Regions from separate parts of the Homo sapiens genome. Here regions 1, 3 and 4 are each linked to region 2. The links are contacts of gene promoters, found by promoter capture Hi-C in human tissues and cell types (Jung and others, 2019). All regions are on one chromosome and are shown on one strand. The core of a region is centred on a gene start or on the middle of the fragment in contact, and the rest is flanking DNA. Distances in the headings are between cores, read along the strand shown.

Evidence for each region. Contacts are between HindIII fragments. The study calls those that stand out against the background at their distance.
Region 1: a contact is called between a fragment that was not itself captured here and the fragment with the promoter of PKNOX1 in region 2, in 1 of the 25 tissues and cell types used here (lymphoblastoid cells).
Region 3: the fragment with the promoter of AGPAT3 here is called in contact with the fragment with the promoter of PKNOX1 in region 2 in 2 of the 25 tissues and cell types used here (heart left ventricle and heart right ventricle).
Region 4: a fragment that was not itself captured here is called in contact with the fragment with the promoter of PKNOX1 in region 2 in 1 of the 25 tissues and cell types used here (spleen).

Annotation. Positions count from the first base shown.
Region 1 is chr21:43,686,167-43,693,080 of GRCh38, forward strand. It overlaps RRP1B (ribosomal RNA processing 1B), which reads left to right. Exons shown (of 16, transcript NM_015056.3): 12 at 638-769; 13 at 1,350-2,074; 14 at 4,122-4,274; 15 at 5,273-5,336. Among named protein-coding and RNA genes, the nearest start is that of PDXK, 30 kb to the right of the region's middle. RefSeq lists a silencer at 1,950-2,079. The HindIII fragment of the contact is 4,062 bases long and covers 372-4,433 here.
Region 2 is chr21:42,972,775-42,979,580 of GRCh38, forward strand. It overlaps PKNOX1 (PBX/knotted 1 homeobox 1), which reads left to right and starts at 1,788. Exons shown (of 11, transcript NM_004571.5): 1 at 1,788-1,890. RefSeq lists silencers at 976-1,135, 1,446-1,835, 1,966-2,285, 2,426-2,625 and an enhancer at 2,587-3,313. The HindIII fragment of the contact is 23,812 bases long and covers 1-6,806 here.
Region 3 is chr21:43,863,873-43,871,412 of GRCh38, forward strand. It overlaps AGPAT3 (1-acylglycerol-3-phosphate O-acyltransferase 3), which reads left to right and starts at 1,351. Exons shown (of 10, transcript NM_020132.5): 1 at 1,351-1,473. RefSeq lists silencers at 410-769, 1,320-1,669, 1,790-2,109. The HindIII fragment of the contact is 11,781 bases long and covers 1-4,025 here.
Region 4 is chr21:43,641,066-43,647,891 of GRCh38, forward strand. HSF2BP (heat shock transcription factor 2 binding protein) reads right to left here. Exons shown (of 9, transcript NM_007031.2): 4 at 3,224-3,327. Among named protein-coding and RNA genes, the nearest start is that of HSF2BP, 15 kb to the right of the region's middle. The HindIII fragment of the contact is 5,547 bases long and covers 1,340-6,826 here.

The DNA.
Region 1 (6,914 bases), core at 1,153-3,652, 710 kb after region 2:
GTGGGAAGTGATGCAAGCCTAGGGCTCCCTGCAGCCTGCCCACCTTCCTATCCTGGGCTCTCCCTAACCACCAAAGCAAGAGGGCAGACTGCTCTCATGTGTGGGTACTGCGATGTTTTGGTTTGGTTTTTATTATTTTAACTAGATGGATTTTCAATGGCCTAGGAAGGTTTTAATTGGATACTCTATGAAGGTAAAAAATGTAATTTCTCAGGATCCCTTTCATTTGCTCTTATGGTCAATGGTCCCCCCGGGAAAGGCTGATGCTGTAAGCTTTGTTACATTTGGACAAGTCAGTGAAGTTACCCCATACCCGTCATTCACTAGGGACACTTGGAATTGGGAAAGGCACCAGCAAGCTGGTTGGAATGCAGAGACTGCATTAGCCAAGCGTCCGGGGTCCAGCCATGGAGGGTGTCACCGAGGGCTTGTGATCCCTTGCCTTGCCTTGGTTGAGAAATCCACAAAGCTTTTTTAAGTCTGTAATTCCTGTGTCAGCAGCGCTCAGGTTTGGGTGGGAGAAACGGTGAGGAACGATGATGATGAGGCAGAAATTGGGAGGGGTGCTGCTCTTAGGCCCCTGGGGCAGAGTCTTGAGCGCCTGGGGAAGCTAACAGTGTGTCACTCTGGCATCTAGGAAGCAGTATATCTCAACTCAGTTTTGCGGAGGACATTTCTGCTGATGAAGATGACCAAATCCTCAGTCAAGGAAAGCATAAGAAGAAAGGAAATAAACTTTTAGAGAAAACTAACTTGGAAAAGGAGAAAGGTAAGCTGTAAAGCTAAAAAGAAGGGCACGACTCAGCCCTTGGGGAGCGGCATGCACCATGGAGGCCTCGGAGACTTGAGCTCGTGCCGTCATAAAGCATTAGCAGAGCCCAAAGCTTCAGTCTTTAATGGCTGAGAGGTAAAGGCGGTTTTCCAAGTGTTGTGCTGTTTTTGGTGGAGCCGCGTCCCCACCTCACCCCGCTCACGTCCGCCTGCTCTCCAGGGCACCTCTGCAGGGAAGCAGGAGCTGCAGGGAGCACTGGGGGGCGGCTGTTTGATGACCACTCGAGATCTATGGTTTTTACCCTTGAGCCCTAAAATTAGTGGAAATGGGACTATTTCAGTTCCATATGTGTTTATAAACGGACAGAAGGAAGGCTTCCAGTCACAGTTGGGGATGGAGGAAGTGGGACCAGACGACAAAGGTAGTGGGCGCACCAAGTACCTCAAGGGAGACAGGAACTTTCCTCGTGGTAGAATGTCAGGAAATTGCGTCCGCCAGTCATACTGTCTGAGAATCGCCAGCAGGACTCTGGCCCAGCTGGCACTGGGTGCTTGTTGATGGGTTTCTGTCTTTTTAGGAAGCAGAGTCTTTTGTGTAGAGGAAGAGGACAGTGAAAGCAGTCTTCAAAAGAGAAGAAGGAAGAAGAAGAAGAAGCACCACCTGCAGCCTGAAAATCCAGGCCCAGGGGGTGCAGCCCCATCCCTGGAACAGAACCGGGGCAGGGAGCCCGAGGCCTCTGGGCTGAAAGCCCTGAAGGCACGTGTGGCCGAGCCAGGTGCAGAGGCCACGTCCAGCACTGGGGAGGAGAGTGGCTCCGAGCATCCTCCAGCCGTCCCCATGCACAATAAAAGGAAACGGCCACGGAAGAAGAGCCCGAGGGCCCACAGGGAAATGTTGGAATCAGCAGTGTTGCCCCCAGAGGACATGTCTCAGAGTGGCCCGAGTGGCAGTCATCCTCAGGGACCTAGAGGGTCCCCGACAGGTGGAGCCCAACTCCTAAAAAGGAAGCGGAAACTTGGAGTTGTGCCCGTCAATGGCAGTGGCCTGTCCACGCCGGCCTGGCCTCCATTGCAGCAGGAAGGCCCTCCCACAGGCCCCGCAGAGGGGGCGAACAGCCACACCACGCTGCCCCAGCGCAGGAGGCTGCAGAAAAAGAAGGCAGGGCCCGGCAGCCTGGAGCTCTGTGGCCTGCCCAGCCAGAAAACAGCAAGTTTGAAAAAGAGGAAGAAAATGAGAGTGATGTCAAACTTGGTGGAGCACAACGGGGTGCTGGAGTCCGAAGCTGGGCAACCCCAGGCTCTGGTAAGGTGGGAGCACCCACAGGCCAGCTCGCCACAGAGGCACTCACTCGCGTCCATGGGGCTCCACTGCCTCCTGAGAGGAAGGGTGGGGGCTGGCGGCCAGGCCTCTGGACTCAGCAGCAGTTAGAATAGGGTGTGTTCATAACAGCCTTCACTAAGGAGGAAATCACAGGTGACCAGTACTTCGGTCCTCCTCATCGGCCACCTTCACTCCCTTAGGCCACATGCTTGGGTTCGGGAGGGCCCACTCCAAGCTGGGAAAGTTATCCCTTGGGCCAGGCACTCCTGCCCCAGGCGTGTTCAGGCCAGTCTAGGCCTCTGTCAAAGGCAGGTCTGGTTTTCTTCATCAGCGCATGGCCAGTCCAGGCCCCTTTGGCAAAAGAGGAAGCCCAAAATTCTCTTGCTTCACTCACCTTCTTTTCTATATTCTTTTCTTTTCTTAGCTTCCCCCCTACCCCCCAGCTCAAGAAACTTCACTAGCAGGACCACTTATCTTCTTAATGGAAAGACTTTCCTTCCACTTTGATTTCTAGAGCCAGATATAAATGAGGAACCAAGCTGTTGATCTGGTCTTGGGTCTGGCTGTGTCACCCAGGCTGGAGTGCGGTGGCACAATCTCGGCTCACTGCAACCTCCACCTCCCAGGTTCAAGCGATTCTTCTGCCTCTGCCTCCCAAGTAGCTGGAATTACAGATACACATCACCATGCCCAGCTAATTTTTGTTATTTTTGTAGAGACAGAGTTTTGCCTTGTTGCCCAGGCTGGGCTCAAGCAGTCCACCTGCCTCGGCCTCCCAAAGTGCGGGATTACAGGCGAGAGCCCCCGCGCCTGGCCCTGATCCGCTTTTCACACCACCTCTGGGCGCCCTGGGCTTCCAGGCCAGGGCCGGCAAACGTAGTGTCACTGCAACAGAGCCACATCCACTTGTATGTGCAGGTCTGTGGCCACTTTCATGCTGCAGCGGCAGAGGGGAGTGGTAGAGACAGAGACCTGCGGTCTGTAAAGCAGAAAATAACTCTGCCCTTCACAGAGTTTGCGCACCTTGGTCACCTCTTGGTTTGCACACACCGCTTTGCGGAGATTATGACATCTCTTGTTTAAGTGGACATGTGTGGACCTGGTGAAGCGCTGGTTTGGGGCTAAGAGTGTCTGCAAGTGGCTAGTGAGTGAGTTTATGGTCAGGAAAGCCTTACCCAGGGGCAGCAGTGCACTGAGCTGGACGGCAGGAGGCCCATTTCTAGCCTCGAGTCTCTCCTACCTCACAGTGCCGCCATCTCCTCCCTGGACTGCAGCCTGCCCCTCGTACCCTCAGCGCTGCTCCCTCACTAAGAGGGCCAGAGACATTGCCTTTCTTGCTGTCGTCTCAGGCCCCTGGCAGCCTATTGTAAAGAGGATGGGGTGTTGCTCAATAAGTCCCAGGGTCAAGGGAAGCTTTCCCCTGCCATCTGTCATGGCACAGGGAAGGCGCACAGGAGAAGCTCCTCGGGCTTCCCTGCCCTCCAGGCGGCACACTTGAACCTGCCGGAGCCACCCGTGTGTCGGCAGCGGCACTGGGCTGCCCACACCTCTGAGAGCCAAGTACGAGACCCGGTCTCTCTCTGGGTGGCTGTCAGTTGCTGCACACGCAATGAGTGTCCTGGGCCTGCCTGTGAGGGACCCACAGCCCCACATGGGCATCACTGTCCTCCACACCAGACTGCCAGCGCAGTGACGATTCAGCTACAAATGGGAGAGTCGATCTTATTAACAGATCGGCTTTGAAAGGCCAAAATCCCCATTTTGAAGATGAAGATAAAAGTGGGTCCTTACTCTGACGAGGCGTTTTCATCGCCCCTCTTGGCATGGTGCCATGATAGCGGTCGTGTTGTGCGTGAAGCCTGAGCTCTGCCGAATGGAAGGGCTGTCTGCAAGTGCGGTGCGGAAGACCGCGGGCCGTCGGGTGGGCTGGATCTGCCTGGGGCTCTGCCTTCCCCTCCTGTGTGTGTGGGCAGCACAGGAGGCTCTGTCGTCTGACCCCTCCTCCGCTTCTCACCCCTCGCTCACGTAGGGAAGCAGTGGGACTTGCAGTTCCCTGAAGAAGCAGAAGCTGAGGGCAGAGAGCGACTTTGTGAAGTTTGACACCCCCTTCTTACCAAAGCCCCTGTTCTTCAGAAGAGCCAAGAGCAGCACTGCCACCCACCCTCCAGGCCCTGCCGTCCAGGTACGCACCCTCCCCAGAGTGGCACAGCACATTTCACCACAAGGGCACAGATGGGCTTGAGCTGACAGTGCTTCCCATGCCGGGCCTGGAGCCCCACTGTGGCCCTCTGAGCCTGTCCACAGTGGACAGGTTCCACGGCCAGGGTAGCATAAGGTCTGAGTGGTCTGGGACCCACCCTGAGGGATCACAGTCAGGAAGGGGACTTTGAGGGGCGGTTGATCCACACATTCTGCCTCCCAGGGCTTCCGGCTCAGGGTTTGCAGAAACCAGTTTTCTCTCGTGAAATGTCACAGTGTTAAACACAAGTGGTGCAAGTCAGCAGTAGGAGGTCCACACAGAAATGTGGGTCAGAGCAGGAACTTGAGGCAGTGCTTCCTGATGCAGGCTGGATCCACTTCCAGGAATGTAAGTAGGAAAGAAGATAGTTGATTGTGGTGAACTGTTGGGATATGCAGATAGCTCAGAGTCCTTGTGCACAAAAAGCTGGAAACTGTGTGTCCATTGTCCATTGCAGTGAGATTCCATCATAGGCATCGTCTCATCGATGTCATAGAGTCTTCAAGTTAGAAGTTCAGAACTCTCCAGCAAAAGGCAGGGGAGTCTTGGCATTTTTCCTCACGGGTTCTCAGTGGTGAACTGTTTTTAGGACAGTTCAGGCATCCTCTCTGTTTGCCTTTCTTCCCTGGATCGTAGAACCCTGCAGCGGTAATGAGGCAGTGACCGCAGATGGGCCAAGAGTGTGGGCACCACTGACCCTGGGCTGGGGGGTTGCGTGTGTGGGACGCTGGGAAGGACAAAGGGCGGTCCTGGTGAAGCCCCGACAGGAGGGTCGGTTTCAGTCTTGGCCGCAGTCCCTTTGGCCTCTCCCTATATGTGCCACTCAGTAAGCAGCAGTGTGGGCGGCATACCCTCCAGGGCAGGTTCTCCAGAAAAATCTGACTAAGCGCCTCCACTGCACTTGCGTCACTCCTTTTGTTCCTGTTATTTCTCTTCTGCAGCTAAACAAGACACCATCCAGCTCCAAGAAAGTCACCTTTGGGCTGAACAGAAACATGACTGCCGGTAAGTGGGGTTTTGCCAGCGGCAAGCTTCTCTGGAGCACAGCTGCAGCTCCTGGCGCGGCTCGCAGCCTGGTTCCACAAGGCGGTCGGGGAAGAGGGGGGTCCTAGCTCCTCACTGCCCATTTCTTTATTTTTATTTTTTTTTTTTTTTTGAGACAGAGTCTCGCTGCTCTGTCACCCAGGCTGCAGTGCAGTGGCGAGATCTTGGCTCACTGCAACCTCCGCCCCCCCAGGTTCAAGCGATTCTCCTGCCTCAGGCTGCCGGGTAGCGGGTAGCTGGGATCACAGGTGCACGCCATCACATCCAGCTAATTTTTGTATTTTTAGTAAAGATGGAGTTTCACCATGTCAGCCAGGCTGGTCTCAAACTCCTGACCTCAGGTGATCTGCCTGCCTCGGCCTCCCAAAGATCTGGGATTACAAGCGTGAGCCACCGAGCCCGGCCCCTCACTGCCCATTTCTGAGTCAGAAGGAAGCACCTATGTGTCTGTCCCTCATCCTCAAAGGGCTGTGAGTGGGGTGCCAGTGGTGAGTGGGCAGCCAATTGCCTGGGACCTGTTAAGAGAAGCTACCTGGTGAGACGTGATCCAAAAAGCCGTTTTCCCAAGTGTCTTTCTAAATACTGAAAGCCGTCCCATAGAGAGGCCATTTGAGATCGTAGTGCTCCATCAGCTGTAGCTGTCTCTCTGCGAAACTTCGGAACCACTTGCTTCTTGGGCGACAGAGAAGGGTAACCCCTATCTTCCTACTTTTCATATTGGTGCCATCCATTCGAGTTGCTTTTACAAAGGAAACCAAAGTTTTAAAAAGTAGTATAGGCCAGGCGCGGTGGCTCATGCCTGTAATCCCAACACTTTGGGAGGCCAAGGTGGGCAGATCATGAGGTCAGGAGTTCGAGACCAGCCTGGCCAACATGGTAAAACCCCGTCTCTACTAAAAATACAAAAATTACCTGGGCGTAGTGGCAAGCACCTGTAGTCTCAGCTGCTCGAGAGGCTGAGGCAGGAGAATTGCTTGAACCCAGGAGATGGAGGTTGCAGTGAGCCAAGATCGTTTCACTGCACTCCAGCCTGGGTGACAGGCTGGGTGAGACTCCATCTCAAAAAAAAAAAAAAAGTATTATAACGAATTTAGGACCTGACTCTTGTTGGGAACTGCAAGTAATAGAGAGTATGTGTATGTGTGAGTGTGTGTACATGCACCAGTATATATGTGTGTGTGCGTGTGCATGCACACATGCGTGAGTGTGTATGTTTAGGGAGAAGAGACTCTGAGAGACTGAGGAGCTCACCCAGCCTTTACAACTGGAGAAAATGAACAGTACGAATCCTGCAGCTCCACATAGCACAGATTTGTCCCAGACACAAATGCCTGGTTCACTCATTGTCCAAAACACCCCCACCCCCAATGTTCACCCTTCCAGGAGCCACCCTACCAGCAGCTCCCCTTAGTCTGTGCAGGCAGCCCTGGGCCCTCCCTTGGGAGGGTGAGTTGAGGCATGGGATGTGGCCTCACTGCCCTCCTTTCCTCAGAAGGCTCTTGGGCCTGCTCTCTGCAGGGCCTTGAGATGGCCCTGCTT
Region 2 (6,806 bases), core at 538-3,037:
TGACCTCAAGTAATCTGCCCGCCTTGGCCTCCCCAAAGTGCTGGGATTACTGGCGTGAGCCACTGCGCCCGACCCCTTTTAGGCAATGTAGGGTATCTTCCAAACGTTGCCATGGCATTTGAAAACTGTCATGGCGCTGGCGAGAGTGTGTTTTACCAAGCTCATATATTATAATTAGTGTATAATCAGCAGTGAGGAAGGCCACAGGTCACTTTCCCCGCCATCTTGGTTTTGGTGGGATTTGGCCGGCTTCTTTACTGCATCCTGTTTTATCAGCAGGATCCTTGTGACCTGTGTCTTGTTCCGACCTCCTATCTCATCCGATTACTAAGAACGCCTTAACTCCTGGGGGGTGCGGCCCAGCAGGTCTCAGCTTCAGTTTACCCAGCCCATGTGGAGTCTCTCTGTTCCAACACCTATTGACACTTGCATCTGGATCTTGCACTAGGCTCTGCAGATTATGCTCAGTCTTGAATACTGAGCTTTTTTTGTCCCCTTGAACTTCCCTCCTTGGGCAAGTATCTCAGGGCCTCCCTCTTGCCCACCCTGCTGCTTCCCATCTTTCTGAAAGAGGCGGCTCTGCAGCTGCACAGCACTTGGCCAAGACCTCCTGGCGGTGTGGAGCTCTGAAGACACAGGAGGGATGTCCTCCGAGCTGTTCATGCCTAGACCTACCCCCAGGCTCCCTCTAGCAATCAGCTCCAGTCCTGGGCCTGTCTGCCTTCCGGGAGGAGTGGGGGCCCACAGAGCTGCCCTTCCCGCGCTGTGTATGGACTCAAGGCACTGATGGCCTTCGGTGGGCCACTGCATAAATGGATGTTTCTGCAGTATTGAAGGCCAGTCAGGCAAACCGTGTGCTTTCCTACGCAGTGGGGAATGTGTCGCCCTTTCCTTACATCTTGGAGACCAAAGCCACCATCTGCACTTGTGGGTACATTGTGGCAGTGGTCGGTTAGGGTGGTCTTTCAAAGCAGTTTGAAATGCAGACACTTGTGGGCGTCCCCTAAGGCAGGTGCCCTTTACCTGGAGGCCGCATTGGTCACCTAGACCCGCAAGGCTCACCTGGGCCGGAAGGTGTGGTCAAGCGAGGCCAAGTAGCCCAGAGGCCACCCCTAAGCACCTGTGGACATCATGAGTCCTTGCTGGGGTCCTCACAGAGGGAAGACAGCCCCCAGGGTAAAGCCTCAGGTGCTAAGCACTCGCGCTGCCGCAGGGGGGGAGGCACGTGAGCATCCACTGTGCCGCCCAGGACGGGCCCACCCGGGCTCCAGAGCCTGGGGAGGAAGGCTGCGAGGCTCCCACGGGCTTACATTCAAACCGGGCACACACAGAACGGAGGCCTTCGGCTACGGGACGCCCGGCGGTGGGGTTACGGATGGTACAGCCCTCCCTCCCCGCCTGCTCGAGGCAAATGGTTTCGCCCGGCTACACACACCTCTCCTGGGCGGCAACCGAGGGCGCGGAGGGGGCAAGACGTGCGCTGAGGCCACGCCCCTACTGCATAGTCATAAGGCGGGAGGCTCTGCCTTCGGGGCGGGGCAGACAGCTCCTCGCGCTCGGGCGCGGCCGGTTGGGGGCACGGCCTAGCTCCGGGTGCGGGCGGGGCTGGAGGCGGGGCCGGCCACCGCCCGGTTCCCGCCCTCGCTCTCCTCCCCCAGCGATCAGGCCCCGCCCCGCGCCCGCCGCCGCGCAGGGAGGGGCGGGGCCCGTCTCCGGCAGGCCCCGCCCCCTCTCTGAATATTGATGCGGCGCGCGTCGGCGTCGCCCTCCTCCCATTGAGCGAGGCTGTGTCGCGTGGCCCAGCGTCGGCGTGACGGTTGGACGCGGGCGCGGCACTGCGGGTCCCGATTGCTGCAGCCGCTTGTCAGTGTGATGAAGATTGGCACCCAGGTAAGCTGTCACTCAACCGCTCCGCCGCCGCCGCCGCCGCTCTCGCCGCCGCCGTCCCTATCAATCACACCGGCCCGCGGCCGCCGCCCGCCGCCGCCGCTGCCGCCCGGGTCTGGAGGGCCGGCGCTGCCCTCGAGGGCCCGCATTTGACCCGCCGCCCGGGGCAGGGGGCGGGGAGGGGGCGCGGGTGGGGGAGGGGAGCGGGCACCCGCGGGGGAGGGGGCGCCTTCAGCCCAACCGGCGCGGGGGCGCGCCCAGTTGGTTTCTTAGTGTGGGTTGAGGGACGCGGAAATTTCTGGAAGGCGCCGCCGCCGCCGCGCTGGGCCTGATCGAAGCGCGCGCTCCTAACCGTCCCTTTCGGAGTGCGGCGCGCGCCCCGGCGCGGGGCGGGGGCGCGCGGAGCCCGGCGCGGGCGGGGCGGCGGGCGTGAGGGTCGGGGGCGCGCGGCGGGGCGGGGCCGGGGCGGGCGGCGCGCGTGGGGCCGGTCGGGTCCGCGGCCTCGCGGAGTCCTCAGGGCCGGCGGGGCTGCTCGGAGGGTGCGGGGCGCGCGGCGGCGCAGGCGGGAAGATGGCGGCCGCGACCCCGGCCCCGGCCTCGGCCGTGGCGAGCGGGTGGGTCGGGGTCCTGGGGGCGGTGGGCGTGATGGGGCTCGTGGCCCTCAGCCGGGCGCCGGCGCGGGAGCAGCCCAGGGCCGCTCGCTGACGGCAGTGTTTGGGGCCGGGTGCTGGGGAAGCGGTTCCGGCGTCCCGGGAATTGGTGGGAAGAGCCGCTTCTGTCACACGGGTCGTGGTAATGGATGACAGGAAGTGCCGGGCAGGGTCTGGGCGCCCTGTGGGTTTGCACCTTCCTTGTGAGGGAAATCGTGTCACTTAACGAAAAATGAAGAAACGCGGAGTCTGCTTTATGTCATCCTCGTGGCTCTCGAAATGCCTTATTTGGACAGTGGCTCTGCGACGGGACCAGTTAGGGCCTCCGTTCCGATGGCGGATTCCTGACGGGAGGCCCGAGGGTCCGGGAATGGCGGCGTCCTGAGGTCGGGCCCAGGGCAGGCCAGGCTGAGCGCCACGGCGGGGCCGCAGCCCTGGGGGGTGTTCCACCTGTGTGTGGGGTTCTCTTCCAACTCTACGAGAGTTTGCTTTTTAAAACAGTAGATGATTTTTCCTTAGGAAGTGGTTCCTCTTCAGGATGAAAGAAACCCCCAGCTTTAGTTAGGTCTACTTTCATGATTTTTCCTGGCATACTGAAAAATAGGCTTTCTCTAAACATAAGGAAGAATCGAGGTGAAATGTGAACCTCTGCCAGTATAGTTATTGGTGATGCTCTTGCATTTAGTCATAATTTGGAAGATGGCAGGCTGACCCCAATGAGCCTTTCATCACTCTGCTTAATTTACTTAGAGTGATTTGTGAATCCTGTCCTTGTACACAGGCGTACCTCAGATAATTCGAGTTCTAATCCAGACCACCGCAGTAAAATAAGTATTGCAGTAAAGCAAGTGACGCAACAGTTTTAGGTTTTTCAGTGCATATGAAAGTTGTAATTACAGTATACTACTTAAAGTGTGCAATAGCAAGCATTATATCTATAAAAATGTGCTTACGTTAATTAAAAAATATTTTAGTGCTAAAAATACTAATGATCATCTGAGCCTTTAGTGAGTCCTGCTTGTTTTATACTTTGACAATCTGGCCTCAGTGTGGATGGCTGCTGACTGATCAGGGTGGTGGTGGCTGTGTCAGTTACTTAAAATAAGACAACAGTGAAATTTACTGCATTGATGGACTCCTCCTTTCATGAAAGACTTCTTTGTAGCATGTGATGCTGTTTTGATAGCATTTTAACCACAGTGAAAATTCTTTCAAAGTTGGAGGCTATTCTCAAACTCTGCCACTGCTATCCACTAAGTTGATGTGATATTCCAAATGTTTTGTTGTCATTTCCACAATGTGCACAGCGTCTTCACTAGGAATAAATTCCATTTCAAGAAACCACTTTCTTTGCTCATCCGTAAGAAGCAACTGTTCATTATTTCCACCACATCTGCAGTTCCTTCCTCCACTGAAGTCTTGAACTCCTCCAAGTCATCATAAGGGTTAGAATCAACTTCTTCCAAACTCCTGTTAATGTTATTTGACTTCCTTCCATGAATCATGAATGGCATCTAGAATGGCAGATTCTTTCCAGAAGGTTTTCAGTTTACTTTGCCCAGATTCATGCGAGGAATCACTACCACAGCTATAGCCTTACAAAATGTATTTCTTAAATAATTAAGACTTGAAAGTCAAGATTACTCCTTGGATCCATAGCTGCAGAATGGATGTGGTGTTAGCAGACATGAAGACAGCATTCATCTCCTTGTGTACATCTCCATCAGAGCCCTTGGGTGACTAGGTACATTGTCAGTGAACGGTAATATTTTGAAAGAAATCTTTTTCTGAGCAGTGGATCTCAACAGTGGGTTTAAAATATTCAGTAATGTGTTATTCCATTTCCAGAGCACAGGCAAGAGTAGACGTAACATAATTCTTCAGAACCCTAGGATTTTCAGAATGGTCAAAGACCACTGGCTTCAGCTTAAAGTCACCAGTGACATTTGCCCCTAACAAGAGAGCCAGCTTGCCCTTTGAAACTAAGCACTGAGTTCTCTCTAGGTATGAAAGTCCTAGATGTCATCTCCTTCCAAAGGAAGTCTTTTGTCTATATTGAAAATCTGCTTTTTCGTCTCGCTGCCTTCATCAATGATCTTAGCTAGACCTGGATAACCTGGTGTTGCTTTTCTGTTAGGTAGCACTTGCTGCTTCACCTTGTACTTTCGTGTTATGGGGACAGCTTCTTTCCTTAAACCTCATGAACCAGCCTCTGCTGCTTCCAACTTTTTTTTTTTTTTTTTTTTTTTTTTTGAGATGGATTTTCACTCTTGTTGCCCAAGCTGGAGAGCAATGGCGTGATCTCGGCTCACTGCAACCTCCACCTCCCGGGTTCAAGCGATTCTCCTGCCTCAGCCTCCGTAGTAGCTGGGAGTACAGGCAGCTGCCACCACATACAGCTAATTTTTTGTATTTTTAGTAGAGACGGGCTCTACTAAATGTTAGCTAGGCTGGGACTTCTGACCTCAGGTGATCCACCTGCCTCAGCCTCTCAAAGTGCTGGGATTACAGGGGTGAGCTGCCGTGCCTGGCTCCAACTTTTCTTCTGCATCTTCCTCACCTCTCTCAGCCTTCATAGAATTGAAGAAAACTTGGGCCTGGTTCTCGATTAGGCTTCAGTTTAAGGGAATGTTGTGGCTGGTTTGATCTAATCAGACCACTCATACTTTCCACATATCACCAATAAGGCTGTTTCACTTTCTTTCCCTCCCTCCCTCTTTTTTTGAGACTATTGCCCAGGTTGGAGTGCAGTGGTATGATCATGGCTCACTGCAACCTCTGCCTCCTGGGTGCAAGCAATTCTCTTGCCTCAACCTCCCGAGTAGCTGGGATAACAGGTGTGCAGCATGTGTCCAGCTAATTTTTGTATTATTAGTAGAGGTAAGGTTTCACCATGTTGACCAGGCTGGTCTCGAACTCCTGACCTCAAGTGATCCGCCCGCCTTGGCCTCCCAAAGTGTTGGGATTACAGGTGTGAGCCAACGGACCTGGCCATTTTCTTATTCATGTGTTCACTGGAGTAGCACTTTTTAATTGCCTTTAAGTTTTCCTTTGTTCTGAGAGGTGATTTAAAATTTCAAAAATTTGTGTATGTATTTTTTTAATTTCAAAAATTGGAAAGAAACTTCTGCTTTGCATTTACAACTTGGCTAACTTGTTTTTTTCTTTTCTTTTCTTTTTTTTTTTTTTTTTGAGATGGAGTCGCTCTGTCGCCCAGGCTAGAGTGCAGTGGCGCGATCTTGGCTCACTGCAACCTCTGCCTCCCGGGTTCAAGTGATTCTCTTGCCTCAGCCTACCAAGTAGTTGGGACTACAGACGTGAGCCACCACGCCCGGCTAATTTTTGTATTTTTAGTAGAGACAGGGTTTCGCCGTATTGGCCAGGCTGGTCTTGAACTCCTGACCTCAAATAATCCACCCACCTTGGCCTCCCAGAGTACTGGGATTACAGGCATGAGCCACCGCACCCAGCCCTTTTTTGTTTTTTTTTAAAGAGATGAAGTCTCCCTATGTTATCCAGGCAGGTCTCAAACTCCTGGCCTCAAGTGGTCCTCCTGCCTCAGCCTCAGGCATGATCCACTGTTCCTGGCCTTGGCTATGTTTTTGAGAGACAGGGTCTCATTCTGTTGCTCAGGTTGGGATGCAGTGGTGAGATCATAGCTCACTGCACTCTTGACCTCTTGGGCTAAAGTGGTTCTCCCACCTCAGCCCCCTGAGTAACTGGGACTACAGGGATGTGCCAGCATGCCCAGCTAATTTTGAAAAAGTTTTGTAGAAGTGAGGTCTCATTATGTTGCCTCGGCTGTCTCTTAAGTTCCTTTCCAGAATGGTGAATCCTTTCAAGCCGCCTTCCTGCCTCGTCCTTCCGAAGTGTTGGGATTACCCATATGAATCACTGTTCCTGACCTGAACATCAAAGATCACTGATCACAGATCCCCGTAACAGACATAATAATGACAAAGTTTGAAATAGTGAAGAATTACCAAAATGTAACACAGACACAAAGTGAGCTCCTGTTTTTGGAAAATTGGCACCAATAGGCTTGCTTTCTTCATACAGGGTTGCCACAGATCTTCAACTTGTGAAAAACATAGTACCTGCTGAGTGCAATAAAGCAAAACACAATAAAAGGTAAAATGAGGTGCTTATAGCCAGGCGCAGTGGCTGACGCCTGTAATCCCAGCACTTTGGGAGGCCGAGGCGGGTGGATCACGAGGTCAGGAGATCGAGACCATCCTGGCTAACACTGTGAAACCCCGTCTCTACTAA
Region 3 (7,540 bases), core at 101-2,600, 890 kb after region 2:
GGAGGTGGGAGAATACTTGAGCTCAGGAGTTCGAGATCAGCCTGGGCAACACCGTGAGGCCCCATTTCTACAAAAAAAATTTTTTTTAAATTAGCCAGACATGGTGGTGTGTGCCTGTGGTCCCAGCTACTTGGGAGGCTGAGGTGGGAGGATCACTTGAGCCCTGGAGTTCAAGGCTTCAGCGAGCTATGATTGTACCACTGCACTCCAGGGTGGGCGACAGAGCAAGACCCTGTCTCAATAATAATAAAAATAAAAAAAAAAAAAAGGAAAAAAAGGGGCACAGTAGACAGTACCAGTACTTGGTATTTTAAATGGTTTTCAAATGAAGCCCACCCAAGCTCAGCAAGTCCAGCCGGGGCCTGAGGACCTGAGCAGGCGCCAGGTCACACAAGGTACCGGGCGCAGGAGGCGGAGCCCGCAGCGGGCCCTGCCCTGACAGCGGCACCTGCGCGGCCTCCGCAGGTTCTGGGATCGGCCGCTGGCCAGGTGCAAGGGAGGGGGGACGGCAGCCGCTGTCCTGGGGCTGAGAGGGCTCCGCGGTCTGGAGGGGACGGCGTCAGCGCCCGCGGGGGTTCGCAGGGCAGCCCCGGGGCGACCCCCACCCCCGCCACGGTCAAGTGTCGATACAGTGTTGCCAGCCGGGTGCCAACTATGAATAAGTCCAAGGGCGCGGCACGTGGGCCGAAACGCGATCCTTCCGCGGAGCCGCTGCGCGCAGGGCCGTCCCCACCGAGCCCGCCGCGCGGCGACCCCTGACGGCGACCCTAAGCCCCGGCCGACCAGGGCAGGAGCTCGCGCGCGAAACTTCCCCGGCGCCCGCAGGAGACCCCGGCAGGGGAGATGGCGGGGCCCAGGCAGAGCTCGGAGGCCCCTCCCGGCCCCACCCCGCGCCCCGGCCCCCTCTGCCCCCGACCCGGTCCGGGGGAGCCCTCGCGGGACCCCAGCCTGGTCCTTCGCCGCCTCCCCCCGTTCAGCCCCGACCCCCCTGATCCCCGCGCCCCCCGCGGTCCCGGCCCGCCCCCTCCCCCAGCCCGGGCCCCAGCCCCGTCCGTTAGCGGATCCCACGCAGGCTCCGCGCCCGGCCCCGCCGGCGCCCTCGGCCCACACCTCTCTCCGCGCGCGTGTCCCGCCGTGTCGCCCCCGTGTCCCCTCCGCGTCCCCCCCCGCGCCGTCCCCCCGCGTCCCCCCCCGCGTCCTTCCCCCGTGTCCCCCCAGCGTGTCCCTCGGCCGCCCCGCGCGCGCCGGCGGAACTGTGGGATCGCCGCGCACAGGAAGTGGCGGCGGCGGCGCGGCCGAGGGCGGAGGGCGGAGGGCGGCGGGATGGGGGCCGGGGGCGGCGGGCGCCGCACTCGCTGAGGCCCCGACGCAGGGCCGGGCCGGGCCCAGGGCCGAGGAGCGCGGCGGCCAGAGCGGGGCCGCGGAGGCGACGCCGGGGACGCCCGCGCGACGAGCAGGTGGCGGCGGCTGCAGGTGAGCACCGAGGCCCCCACCCGAGGTCGGGCCGCCCCCCTCTTCCCCCACGCCCCGCCGCCGCCCGAGGTCGCCCTCCCGCCGCCGGAGGTCGCCCCTGCCCCAGCCGTCCGACCTCGGGCCGCCCGGGGCCCCGCGCCGCAATGGGCCGGCCGCGCTCCGCGGGGCGCGGGGCCTGGGAAGGCGCGGGGCCGGGAGGAGGTCTGGGCCCGGGTCCTGTGCGCCCCCCGCAACCCCGGCCTCCCCGGCGGCCTGGTCCAGCGCGAGGCCCCGGCCGCTTCCCGCAGCAGCCTCGGTGGCGCTGGGCCCAGCGGGGAGGCCCGGGGGTTCGGGGCGCCCGGGAGGGGCCCGGGCCGGGCCGAGGGAGGGCGAGTGGGTTCCCGCGGGGACGTCCCATCCCTCCGTCCTGGACTCTGCTCCGGGCCCCGCTCGGCTCCCCCGTGGACAGGACGCGCCCGCCGCCTGGTTTCGGGGCGCGGCGGACCCGGGACCCCCCCCAGGGGCCTCCTCCTCGCGCGCCCAGGCCAAGGGAGCAGTTTCACTTTTGCCGCTCCGCGCGGGGAGGGCTGCGGGGCCCGGGGTTGGCTGTGGGTTCGGCCCGGAGACCGGCGGCGCGTTTGCACCGGGCGGGTCAGGGGATGGGGTCAGTCCGGGGGCAAGAGCCGTGGGGGCGAAAACCCACTCCTGGCCACCCCAGGACCCTTGGAACATTGGTCCCAAGTACTTAGGAAAGGAGGGTTATTAGTATTTGAAGGCAGTTAAAAATGGTGCAGTGTTTTTTTTTTTTTTTTTAACTTTGAGAGAAGTTTAGTGACATGGGGAAAATGCTTTTATAAATGGCTTCCCAGACCTTTAAAAAAAAAAAAGCACAATTTTAAAAGCTTTGTCTAGGAGAATACTTGAGCAGTTGGGTTCTTTTTCCTGGGAAACATGATCTTAGTAGAAGAAAGATGTGGGCTGTTGGCCTCCAGACAGAGGGTGATGAGCATGCGGCTCTTATTAAAAATGAAAGCCAACGCCGAGAGCCTGCTGGGGGCTGGGAGGTGGGGCGGGCGGCGGGCCCAGGCTGCTAGAGGGACCCAGGATCCTGCAGCTTTTAAATTGCAGGCGCGGCTGCTCCGACTCGACTCGCTTAGGAATTGCTGAACTTCGTCTTCTCAGTTTGAAAGCTTCAGAGGGGTCTCCCGAGGATGCTGAGCACTCTCTTGATTTGGCCACTTCTTTGCCGCCCCCCCTCCCTCTTTCCAACCAATCCTCCTCCCCCACAGAGTTCGGCGTTAGCCTGTGCCTGTTACAACTCGCTTCTTGTATCCATTTCTGGTTAGTCTTAAGTATCTTCTTGAGGACATTGTCTAAAAAGCAGCTGCATGCCATTGACATTCAGACAGAACAGGGCCCCTTGGCCTTAGAAGGTGTAGGGGCCTTAAATATTCTGAAGGTGACTTCATGGAGTGGCCGCCCTCTGTGGTCACCCTACCTGTGCGTGGCCCTGTCCTGGCGTATCTGCCAGGGGGACGCGCTGCAGCAGCCTGAAGACTGCTGGGTTAAAGGCAGTGTGGCCGGGTGGGAAAGTCCCCAGGAGTGTGGATTCTAGAACAGGCCTTCCTGGAGGGAGGGTGCTGCCCCGCCCCAGGCTGGGGCCCCAGTGCAGACTCCACGCTGGGGAGCTACACCCTGCGCCTGGACGCGCGTCTGTGTGCCAGGACTGGGGAAGCAAACTGAAAGTAATGGCTTTATTTTGGAAATTAGAAAAAGAGCATTCACCAAAGTAATCTGTTCCGTCCCTGCCGTAGACACGTGACTGATACACCTGCCTCCCATCCCCTCCGCACTTTGACCTCGTAAACAAGTGATCTGACACAACAGGGCTTGAGTTACTTGCCCGAGGTTGTGTCACGGAACGGCAGGGCCGCCTTTAGGCTTACATCCCTGGAACTCCCACCTCCACAGACCCGTCCGGGTGCTGAAAGTCCACGGATGCTATCCCTGGTCAAATCAGAGGTAGGTGGGAAATGTTGGAATTCTCCTAAACAGGGAAGGGGAAGATCAGAATGTGTGTTTGAGAAGAGCCTGATTTCCTGGATTCCTTTGGAGGAGGGGTGTCCTTAACTTGCCCAATCACATTTACCCTGTTCATCAATCTTCAGCCCCGCTTAGGCTCTCACATTGCAGACCCCACGGCAGAGCCCCTAGTGCTTGGCACTGAAGAGCCAGTGCAGGCCCGTTGTCACCATCAAAACCCACCTCTGGTAAATTCAATGGCTTCTGCTTCCACGCTTTGCCCCCCCTCTCTGGCCTTGTCAAAAACTCTTGTGATGTCCCTGTTATAAGGTATCGCCGGTGGACTGGTGTTTCTAGATCGCAGCGTGGGACGTGATTGGCTACATTTGACTGTTTCCTTTTTAATGACTTGTTTAATGTGAGATCTTTAGCTGCTCCATCTCATTGCAAGATTTTTGTTACAGTAAAGTTGGACTGAGTTTTCTAAAGACAGTTGCTCAGAAATTTCATGGGAATTTACTTTTGGTTAACCGAAGAGTGTTTGGGGTTTTAAACGGGTCGTTTCAAGTGGTAAAGTAACATGACCACGAGGCGTCTGTCCTTCCTAAAACCACTTCATCATAATTTCAAGATTGATTCTAAATTACCAATTTCAAAGCGCTGCATTTTAGGCAAGTGCATTAATCGTTCACCTTCTGACAGGCTTTCATGTAGTCATTTACAAGCGGCCATGTTTTGATTATCTTTGTCAAGCAAAGTGCAGGAGACAGGCAGTCTCATAACCTTGGGGCAGTGTCTGTGTTTAGTTTTGGAGGCGGGAAGGCCGAGTTGATGGTGAAAGTTGGCCATTCTTTCTGCAGGGCCAAAGTCTGTACCTGGCTATTAGGGTGCATGGATGCTGGGGTTAAATTGGCCACGTCTTTTCCCAAGCCTAGGTAGAAGGATTGCAGATAGGATATGTTTTAAATGTTACTGGTGGTGAATTGAAAGCAACACAACTATCCTTCAGTGTGTGACTGGCAGAAATCTACCTCCTGGCTAGCGTGCCCTGTGTCACTTAAGACTCAAAGTGGAGCTGGGTGCTCTTGGTGGGACAGTGTGCCTGCAGCCCAGAGGCCTGTCCCCAGTGACTGGGAAGGCTATGCATCATTGTTGGAGATGGTCTCGATTCCTTTCTGAAAGCGGGTAGAGAATGAAATGCATAATAAATAACAATAATGATGAATTATAAAATGAGCAGCAGTAACAAGCTGTACAAGGAAATACCTGTCCTGAGATCGATTACTCACCCCTGACTGTCTGCCCTCCTGATTCTCAGCCAGGTGCTGGGAGCTGAGTACCGGCGCTGCAGCCACGCTGGCTCTTGTTCTCTTCCTCATGTCCTATTAGCTGACCTGACACTAAATCTGTCACCTGCTTTATGACATGCTTACCTTATTATTTTATAAGCTCCTCTACATCCCTGTAAGGAGAGTGGTATTGCCCCATCACACAGAAACTGACAGAGACACTGACATGGGAAACTGAGTGGGGAAGTGTGGCCAGCGTCTCAGCTTGGGCAAATCTAGATTTAAACAAAGGTCCAATAGAATCCAAAGCTGTTATTCTTTCCACCAAACCACCTTGATGCTCATAAGATCCAATAGATGAAAATCTACATTTCTGAAACGGAGACTAAGTCATTGGCTTCACATACACGTATTCATTTAAACACTTTTCACTTGTAGAAGGCCGTACTTGCTGGACTGGGGGCTCTGAAATCTCCATCTGAATTGATAGAAACAGATACATGCTGGATATGGAATCAAGAAGAAAATTAATTCAATTGACGTAAATTCATCTATGCTCAGCTTTTTACGGTACACTTGGTGGGAGTAAAATGAAGAGCTGTTTATTGACTCCTCATGTGAAGAATGTGCTGATGATTGGGTTAAGCTTTTCATAGATTGATTTCTGATTTAGGCCATTGTCCTAGTCTAATTGGAGTGATTGATTGAGTGAACAAATGTGCATTTTATTAGGGAGCTACACATAATTTTTGCATTGAGAAATTAACCAGTTGTTATACTTTGTAAAATATGGTGTACTAGCATTGATTTTTGCCAAAATAGACAGAAGTCAGATTGTTAGAGGAAGACCGCGTCAGTTTGGGTTATGCACTTGTCAGTTTGGGAAGCAGGTGCCACGATGAGATGGGAAGTGCAGGAAGAAACCCTGCAGAGGATGGTGGGGGAGCACCAGACCTCCAGGCAGGTCTGACCCCCGTGAGAGGAGGCGGAGGGAGCAGTGCTGGGGAGGAGGAGCCTCAGACCCAGCCCTGAGTTAGGCACAGCCAGCCCAGTGCCAAGTGGACCCCCAGGGTGGCCCTGCGTGAGTACCCGCTTTGGTCATTACCCCTGAAGGGGTCCCGAAGGTGTCTCAGCAAGGAGGCTGTGGCTCACCTGTCTCCTCACCTGTCACCTTGAAGCGGCTTTCTCTGGCAGAGCTCCATGGCGGCCTCAGAAACAAAGTTTAGGGACTTAAAATTTTATGCATGTATTTTAGAGGTGGGGCCTCACTGTGTTGCCCAGGCTGGACTCAAACTATTGGGCTCAAGCGATCCTCCCACCTTGGCCTCCCCAGTAACTGGGACTACAGGTGCTGCCACCACACGTGGCTAAGTTTAGTGACTTTTGATAATCCACAAAAACAAAAGGAACAGTAAAGACAATCCCAACTGTGACTCATTATGCGGCACGGGCGGGCGGGATTTTGGATTAGTTTTAGGAAGCGAACCACAGCCGTCCTCCTTGGACTCCCTGCCGTGGCTGGCAGTGAGCTGGTGCAGGGAGGCGAAGTGCTGGTGTTCTGGGAATTTTCAAATGCACTACAGCGATCAGGACACACGTGTTTCAGTGCACACAGGTTATTTTCAGTTTTCTAAATCAGGAGCTTATTACTATGACTTAAGTTCTAGAACATTGGTTAGAAAATATGTTTGTCGTGCAGTTCAGTTCCAGCTCCAGGCTAGCATTGCATTTTCCTGGAGCCCCAAAGCCTTTGTAACTTTTACTTCTTTTCTTTAAATGTTAGTGAATTATTGGGTCCCCGGGTGGTGGTTCACACCTGTAATGCCAGCACTTTGGGAGGCTGAGGCACGTGGATCACTTGAGGTCAGGAGTTCGAGACCAGACTGGCCAACATGATGAAACCCCATCTCTACTTAAAAAAAAAAAAAAACCCAAAAATTAACCAGGTGTGGTGGCGCATGCATAGGTCCCAGCTACTCGGGACACTGAGGAAGGAGAATGCCTTGAACCTGGGAGGCGGACCTTGCAGTGAGCTGAGATCGTGCCACTGCACTCCAGCCTGGGTGACAGAGCCAGACTCCATCTCAATAAATAAACAAATAAATAAATGTTAGTGAATTATTCAGTATATAATGTTTCTTTTTGGTGAACAAAGCTATACAGGAAAATCGTAAACACAGATTCTGACAGGGTCCAGCTAGGAAGGTAAGTGAGAATGCAGACATGAGGCCTATGAAGGGGTGGCTGTGGTGAACATGAGTGAGAGACTGAGGCCTCTTTCACAGGGTCTGGCTCACCTGACCACCCGCTACTGACCCCCAGCTGAGCAGGGCCAGGTGGGTATAGGACCAGAGTGACTCCATCTTTAGTCTTCCGAGAGAAACCAGGTATCTGGAGTTTTATATGCAATGTATTTATTTTTAACAAACTGCACACGCCAAATTACAAATGTTGCCAACTGAATTCAACTGGGGCTACTGTTTTTACAGTCTCTGGGCTACAGTATTTATTTCTTGAAACAAAGTAACTGAACTAATTAAATGAGGACAAAACACGCATTTCCAAAATGCAGGAAGAGAGGGGGAAAAATCCCAAGAATTTATGTGCAGATGAAACCAAAAGAATCATTGCCTCTGTCTCAGGGATGGCTGCTGGAAACAGCGTTCTCTGATGATGCTTAGAGGAAAGGAGAAGATGGTACTAAGAGAATAAGCATCAATTGGAAAAACAACGTAACTCCACGTGTCTTTAAGGGCCTACGGGAGACCCTCCCGTAA
Region 4 (6,826 bases), core at 2,863-5,362, 670 kb after region 2:
CACTGCAAGCTCCGCCTCCCAGGTTCACGCCATTCTCCTGCCTCAGCCTCCCGAGTAGCTGGGACTACAGGCGCCCACCACCACGCCTGGCTAATTTTTTGTATTTTCTTTTTTTAGTAGAAACGGGGTTTCACCGTGTTAGCCAGAATGGTCTCGATCTCCTGACCTTATGATCCGCCCACCTCAGCCTCCCAAAGTGCTGGGATTACAGGCGTGAGCCACCGCGCCCGGCCAATATTCTCCAACAGTTGTGCCTTTACCAGGAAGCTGGGATCTTTTTCCTCTAAAGTTCAAACGTTGCTACTGCCAGGACTCTTTCCTGGCCCAGCCTCCTCACATCATAAGCAGGTATCAAGACCCAGTGCACCTCCTCCACTGACCCAACAAAATCTCTGTGGAGGAAACATCTCCACCATGGCCAGGAACAAAGTCTTCCTTGTTTGAGTAGCCTTTCTCTAGGGGTTCAGAAGCTGCTTGCTCATACATCACACTTTATGATTTGGGTTCCATACTTTGTTTCTGACCTTTTCTTACATATTGAACTCAATAACTTCTGCCTTTTCCTAGTAATTTTTCACTCATACAGAAGTACTTACTAGCAGCCAGGCACGGTGGCTCACGCCTGTAAACCCAGCACTTTGGGAGACCAAAGTGGATGGATCACCTGAGGTCAGGAGTTCAAGACCAGCCTGGCCAACATGGCGAAACCTCATCTCTACTAAAAATACAAAAATTAGCCAGGCATGGTGGCACGTGCCTGTAATCCCAGGTATCCAGGAGGTGGAGGTTGCAGTGAGCTGAGATTGTGCCACTGCACTCCAGCCTGGACGACAGAGCAAGACTCTGTCTCAAAAAAAAAAAAAAAAAAGTACTTACTAGCAGTAATCTAATTGAGGATCTAGTCTCTGGATTCTTTCCTGGGTCCTCAATTCTATAATAAGTTTCCAGGGCCAGGTGCAGTGGCCCATGCCTGTAATCCCAGCATTTTGGGAGGCCCAAAGCAGGAGGATCACTTGAGCCCAGGAGTTGAAGACCAACTTGGGCAACATAGTGAGACCCCATCTCTATAAAAAAATTTTAAAAATTGTTTTAAAAATTATACAATAGAATTGTTCTTGTAAAAAATAAAAATTAATTAATTAATTAAATTTAGCTGGATGTCATGGCACATCTCTGTAGTCCCAGCCACTCTGGAGGCCAAGGAGGAGGATCGCTTAAGCCCAGGAGGTCGAAGCTACTGCAACTATTATTGCACCACTGCACTCCAGCCTGGCAACAGAGCAACACCCTGTCTCAAAAAATAAATAAATAAATAAAATAAGTTTCTAGAGTCCCTCCTCATGATCCGTACAGGCCTCAACAGAGACTACAGCAAAGGCTACAGATAAGGCAGCTGCTAGAAGAGAAATGGCCTTGTTACAGCAACCTTGCAGGAGCTTTCCTCTGTATTCACCTTACAGGAGCTTCCCTCTGTATTCACCTTGCAGGAGCTTCCCTCTGCATTCACCTTGCAGGGGCTTCCCTCTGTATTCACCTTGCAGGGGCTTCCCTCTATATTAAATTGGACTATTCAACAAGATTTTTAACTATAAATAGGGAATAGTTGGGTAAAATATTCCCACATTTTAAGGTCAAAGTTCCAGGGCAACAAAACCCTAGCGATTTCAATGCTACTTTACCATGGCTGTTTCCTTCTTCTCAGTATGCATTTACTGGAATGGCTTCTTTTCTTTTTTTTTTTTTTTTTTTTTTGAGACAGAGTCTCGCTCTGTTGCCCAGGCTGGAGTGCAGTGGCACGATTTCGGCTCACTGCAACCTCCACCTCCCAGGTTCAAGCAATTCTCCTGCCTCAGCCAGGCTGGTCTCGAACTCCTGACCGCAAGCGAACCGCCCACCCTGGCCTCCCAAAGTGCTGGGATTACAGGCTTGAGCCACTGTACCTGGCCTGTTAGTACTATTATCATCCAAAATAAAAATATATCCAGGCCCCAAATTTTATAAAAAGTGTCAGAATAGTTCTAGTTCTATGGAAAAGGAAGTTATGCCACACAAAAAGTTAAACTAAGCAATTTTTAAGAAATATTAGTTTCTCTAATATTTATATAAAATATAACTGGCTAAAATGTAATAATCCCCAAATTAATTACATGTACTTCTGATTTAATACATCTATGTCCAACTATAAGATATTATGTACATGATTTTTTCCTCCGAGACTCTCATCGCTATGGTTTGTCCCCCTGCAAACTCATGTTGAAATTTGATCCCCAATGTGGCACTCTTGAGAGGTGGGGCCTAGTGAGAGGTGTATGGGTCATGGGAGTGGATTCCTCATGAAGCGATTAATGTGCTCTCTGGAGGGTGAGTGAGTTCTTGCTCTCACAGGAATGGATTAGTTTCCCTGAGAGCAGGTTGGTAAAGAGTCTGGCTTCCTCAGTTTCTCTCTCTTGCTTTCTCTCATCATGTGATCTCGTCACACAGCCAGCTCCCCTTCTGTCATGATTTGAAGCAGCCTGAGGCCCTCACCAGAAAAAGATGCCCAATCTTGAACCTTCCAGCCACCAAAATCTTGACATAAATAAACCTCTTTTCTTTATAAATTACTCAGCCTCGCCGGGCGTGATGGCTCACGCCTGTAATCCCAGCCCTTTGGGAGGCTGAGGCGGGCAGATCAAGAGGTCTGGAGATCGAGACCATCCTGGCTAACACAATGAAACCCCGTCTCTACTAAAAATACAAAAACTTAGCCGGCCGTGGTGGCGGCCACCTGTCCCATCTACTCGGGAGGCTGAGGCAGGGGAATGGCGTGAACCCAGGAGGCGGAGCTTGCAGTGAGCCGAGATTGCACCACTGCACTCCAGCCTGGGCGACAGAGCAAGACTCTGTCTCAAAAAAAAAAAGGAAAAAAAAAATTAATTACTCAGTATCAGATATTTTGTTATAGCAACACAAAATGAACTAAGATAATTATGAACCTTTATGTTGTAGGGCAGATTTTTAAACATAAAAGTTAAAAGATACCAAGTGAATGATCTACGTGTTAAATGGTTATAAAATCCATCTGTTCAACTACATTCCAACCCACTCAGAATACATACATTTACAAATACAATTTATTGAGGATTAAGAGTAAAAAATTCAGTCCCACTGCTTATCATAAGTGAAAGGCTGTAAGCCAGCCCCACTTTCTGGCTTGGTGAGAGTCTGTCCCTGAGCATGGTACCTTCTTCTCTCTTATGTTGTCGGCCTGCACGGTTTCCAGGCGGGCTTTAAAGTGCTCACAATCCATTTTCAGCTGCTCTAATTCTTGCTCTTTCCTTTCCAGGTCTAGGAGAAAGACATAAAATTACTCAAGATATTTCAAGTCACTAATCTCTCCCTAAGCATCTATTTTGCCCAGTCTTGACTTAGTAAAATGTGTACTGATTTCTTAGGTGAGAATATTTGCATTTCTTGACTTCTAGCCTGTCCTTGAATAACCAATATTCTAACAGTCCTGTTCTCTAAGTTCATCTCAGTTTTTAGCCCACAGCACAAAGGACTTTGGTTGTTTTCTGTTTTGTGTTTTTAAGGTTTCACTTTACTGCCAGACTAGTACTCAAGGCTTCAAGAAAACATGTTATTTAAAGGATGGAAGGCAGAGCTGAGAAGCCCGACTGTCTCATGGCACAGACTTGTCGCTACTCCATGAAAAGCAGAAGGCAGCTCAGGGAGTGCACGGCGCCAGCACAGGCTGATTCACAAAGCTAGTGTCACCCACTGGCAGACTGACTCAATGGGAACAACTGCAGTAGTAGGCACTGGAGGAGGGAAAGAACAGTGATAAAAATGAGAAAATGCTATAGTGAAAGAGTGGAAACTATGTAATACTTCCTCTCCACCGCACTCATTTAGTTGATGAGTCAACAACAGCCAACAAAAATCCCAAAAAAATCCACGTCAATAAATCAAGCAAAAGTACTATCAACTTTAAATTTAAAATTTTATGTTGCAGAAATACTGACACTCGAAAAAACAAATATATAATACAAATTTTTAAGTGTTTGATCTCAAAAGCTAGGAAATCATCAGTTTTTATGCCAACATATACCAAGATTTGAGGGTGCTAAGAGCTAATGGTCTAACTTCTTTGATTAAAGTAGCGATGCTTTAGGACAATGATTCTCAAACTTTAGCGTACATCAGAATCCCTGGAGGACTTGATAATACAGAGTCGGCTGGGTTCCATCCACAGTTTCCAATTTGGAACGTCTGGGGTGAGCCTGAGAATTTACATTTCTAACAAGTTCCCAGATGAGACTCATGCTGCCTGTCTGGGACCCACACTTTGAGAACTACTTCTGGGCGATAACCTGGTCTCTCATCACCAATAAAATAAAATGAACATGCAACACATGACCAGCAACAGCAAACAAGGGAACCCATCCACAGGAATGTGAAAAAGCAAAAAAATGGAGAGTAATGGAAGGCAGCTACCTAATATTTGTCACATGAAGGAATTTCACTTCTTTACACATTCCCTCTCCTAATCCTTGAACTGAGAAAAACACAAGGCAACTCTGGTTATCTGTTTCATTCTTGTACTGTCACTTGCGATGAGTGAGAAAGCCTCAAAGAGCCAGGCGCCTGGAAAACGGAACATTACTCCACCCTAGAGGAGAAAAAGCTCACAGACACTTCCTCAACTATCTGCAAACAAACGAGAAGCGGGTAGGGCTTTCGAATCTAGGGGTCTGAGAGGACAAGAGGAAGCCAGAATAAGACACTTGTGGGGACTGCTTAGAACCACACGTGTATCCCCAAAGCTCTAAAGGAAATGTTAAAAAGGAAGGAAGAAAGCAAGCTAGTCTCTAAATTTTCTAGAGACCCCGTCCTAGAAGAAAAATTAGAACCTAAAAGTAAATATTCAGACCAGCTAAACATCATAAAATTGGCTGGCAAAGCTTCTCATAAAATGCGTTTCTTAGGGGCCCGGCTCGGTGGCTTATGCCTGTGTAATTACAGCACTTTGGAAAGCTGAGGTGGGAGGATCACTTGAGGCCAGGAGTTCGAGACCAGCCAGGGTAAGACTCCCATCTCTTAAAAAAAAAAAAAAAAAAGTGGTTCTCAGAAATAGAGCAGAGTGCCTTTGGACTATTTCCTCTCCCTCAAATCACAGTTTCATTTTCTGCTCTTTTAAGAAATATTGTGCCACAATGACTTTCACTGGAATTCTTGATTTTATCCTAATCCCAGCCAAAAAATCAACTAGGAAGCACTATGCTTTAAAAACTACATACTTGCATTATTTGTAACAAAGTTAAATGGAAATACATTATTTATACACATACACACTACAATCATATGAAATACCACCTATGGTCACAGACAAAAATGAACAAACTGAAAAACTGAGATGAAATTTGTGATTTAAAATTTTTTCTTTGCATTTAACTGTTAAATTTGGCTTCTACTATTAAACGGTATATTACTCAAACATGGTAAAAGAGACAGGAAATCTCTACAAGCCTTATCATGTGTAAAAACCTGTGGGAATTAACTTTGACCACCCAAAACGGCTCTCTTGCATTACGGTAATTTCATAATCACTTGTTCCAGACAGCTGTATGCAACCCTAGTGTAAGTTAACATACCAAAGGGACAGGGTTAAAACATCCCACTCTACGATAGGCAATCTCATAGAATTCCAGTCAGTCATCAGGGAGGCCACACCCATCTACGCCAGGCTCCTGGGGAGGTGACAAGTGCCCTTCTGCTGTATGAGGCCGCCACCTTGTGGCCAGATGGGAGCATTGCTGCTGCCTCGGAACAGAACCCTGACCTTGCATTTTCAACTTGGCCCCACTGCATGCATGCTACCTAAAAGCACCCTGAAGGCAGGGATTTGCATAGGTTTTCTTCTATGCCCACCCTCCAAATGTCTATATGGAATATAGTAGGCAATACATAAATATTTGTCACATAAATTTATTTCACTTCTTTATACATTCCTTCTGCTAATCTTTGAACCAAGAAAAACACATGGCTACTTTATCTGTATGTCTCATTCTCATACAATAAGAATATATTACTTTTATATTTTTTTAAGCCCAGAGACAGAAATAATATGAACAGTGAATATTACAAACAACCTAAATCATAGACCATTTAAACATCTATGTATCTTCTGAAACAACAATTTTTTTTTTCCCCGAGACGGTGTCTCTCTGTCAGTGCAGTGGCACGATCTCAGCTCACTGCAACCAACGCCTCCCAGGTTCAAGTGATCCTCTTAACTCAGCCTCCCGAGTAGCTGGGACTACAGGCGCCTGCCACCAACCACGCCTGGCTAATTTTTGTATTTTTAGTAGAGATGGGGTTTCACTATGTTGGCCAGGCTGGTCTTGAACTCCTGACCTCAAGTGATCTGCCCATCTTGGCCTCCCAAAGTGCTGGGATTACAGGCGTGAGCTGCTGCACGCAGTCCATAATCCTTTCTTAATACAGGTCTAATAACATGAGAATGGCTGTGTCTCTTGATGCTCAATTTATTCACAGGGAGGGTACAGAAAGCTAGAAAGGAAAATAAGGGTTTCTAAAACACTAATCAAAGAAAACTGCACAAACGGCGTCAATTTATCTTACCATTTCTTTATCACCTGGTATGTGAGGTCAGGAGTTCAAGAGCAGCCTAGACAACATGGCAAAACCCCATCTCTACTAAAAATACAAAAATTAGCCCAGCGTGGTGGTACACGCCCATAGTCCCAGCTACTCGGGAGGCTGAGGTATGAGGACTGCTTGAACCTGGGAGGCGGAAGTTGCAGTGAGCCAAGATCACGCCAGT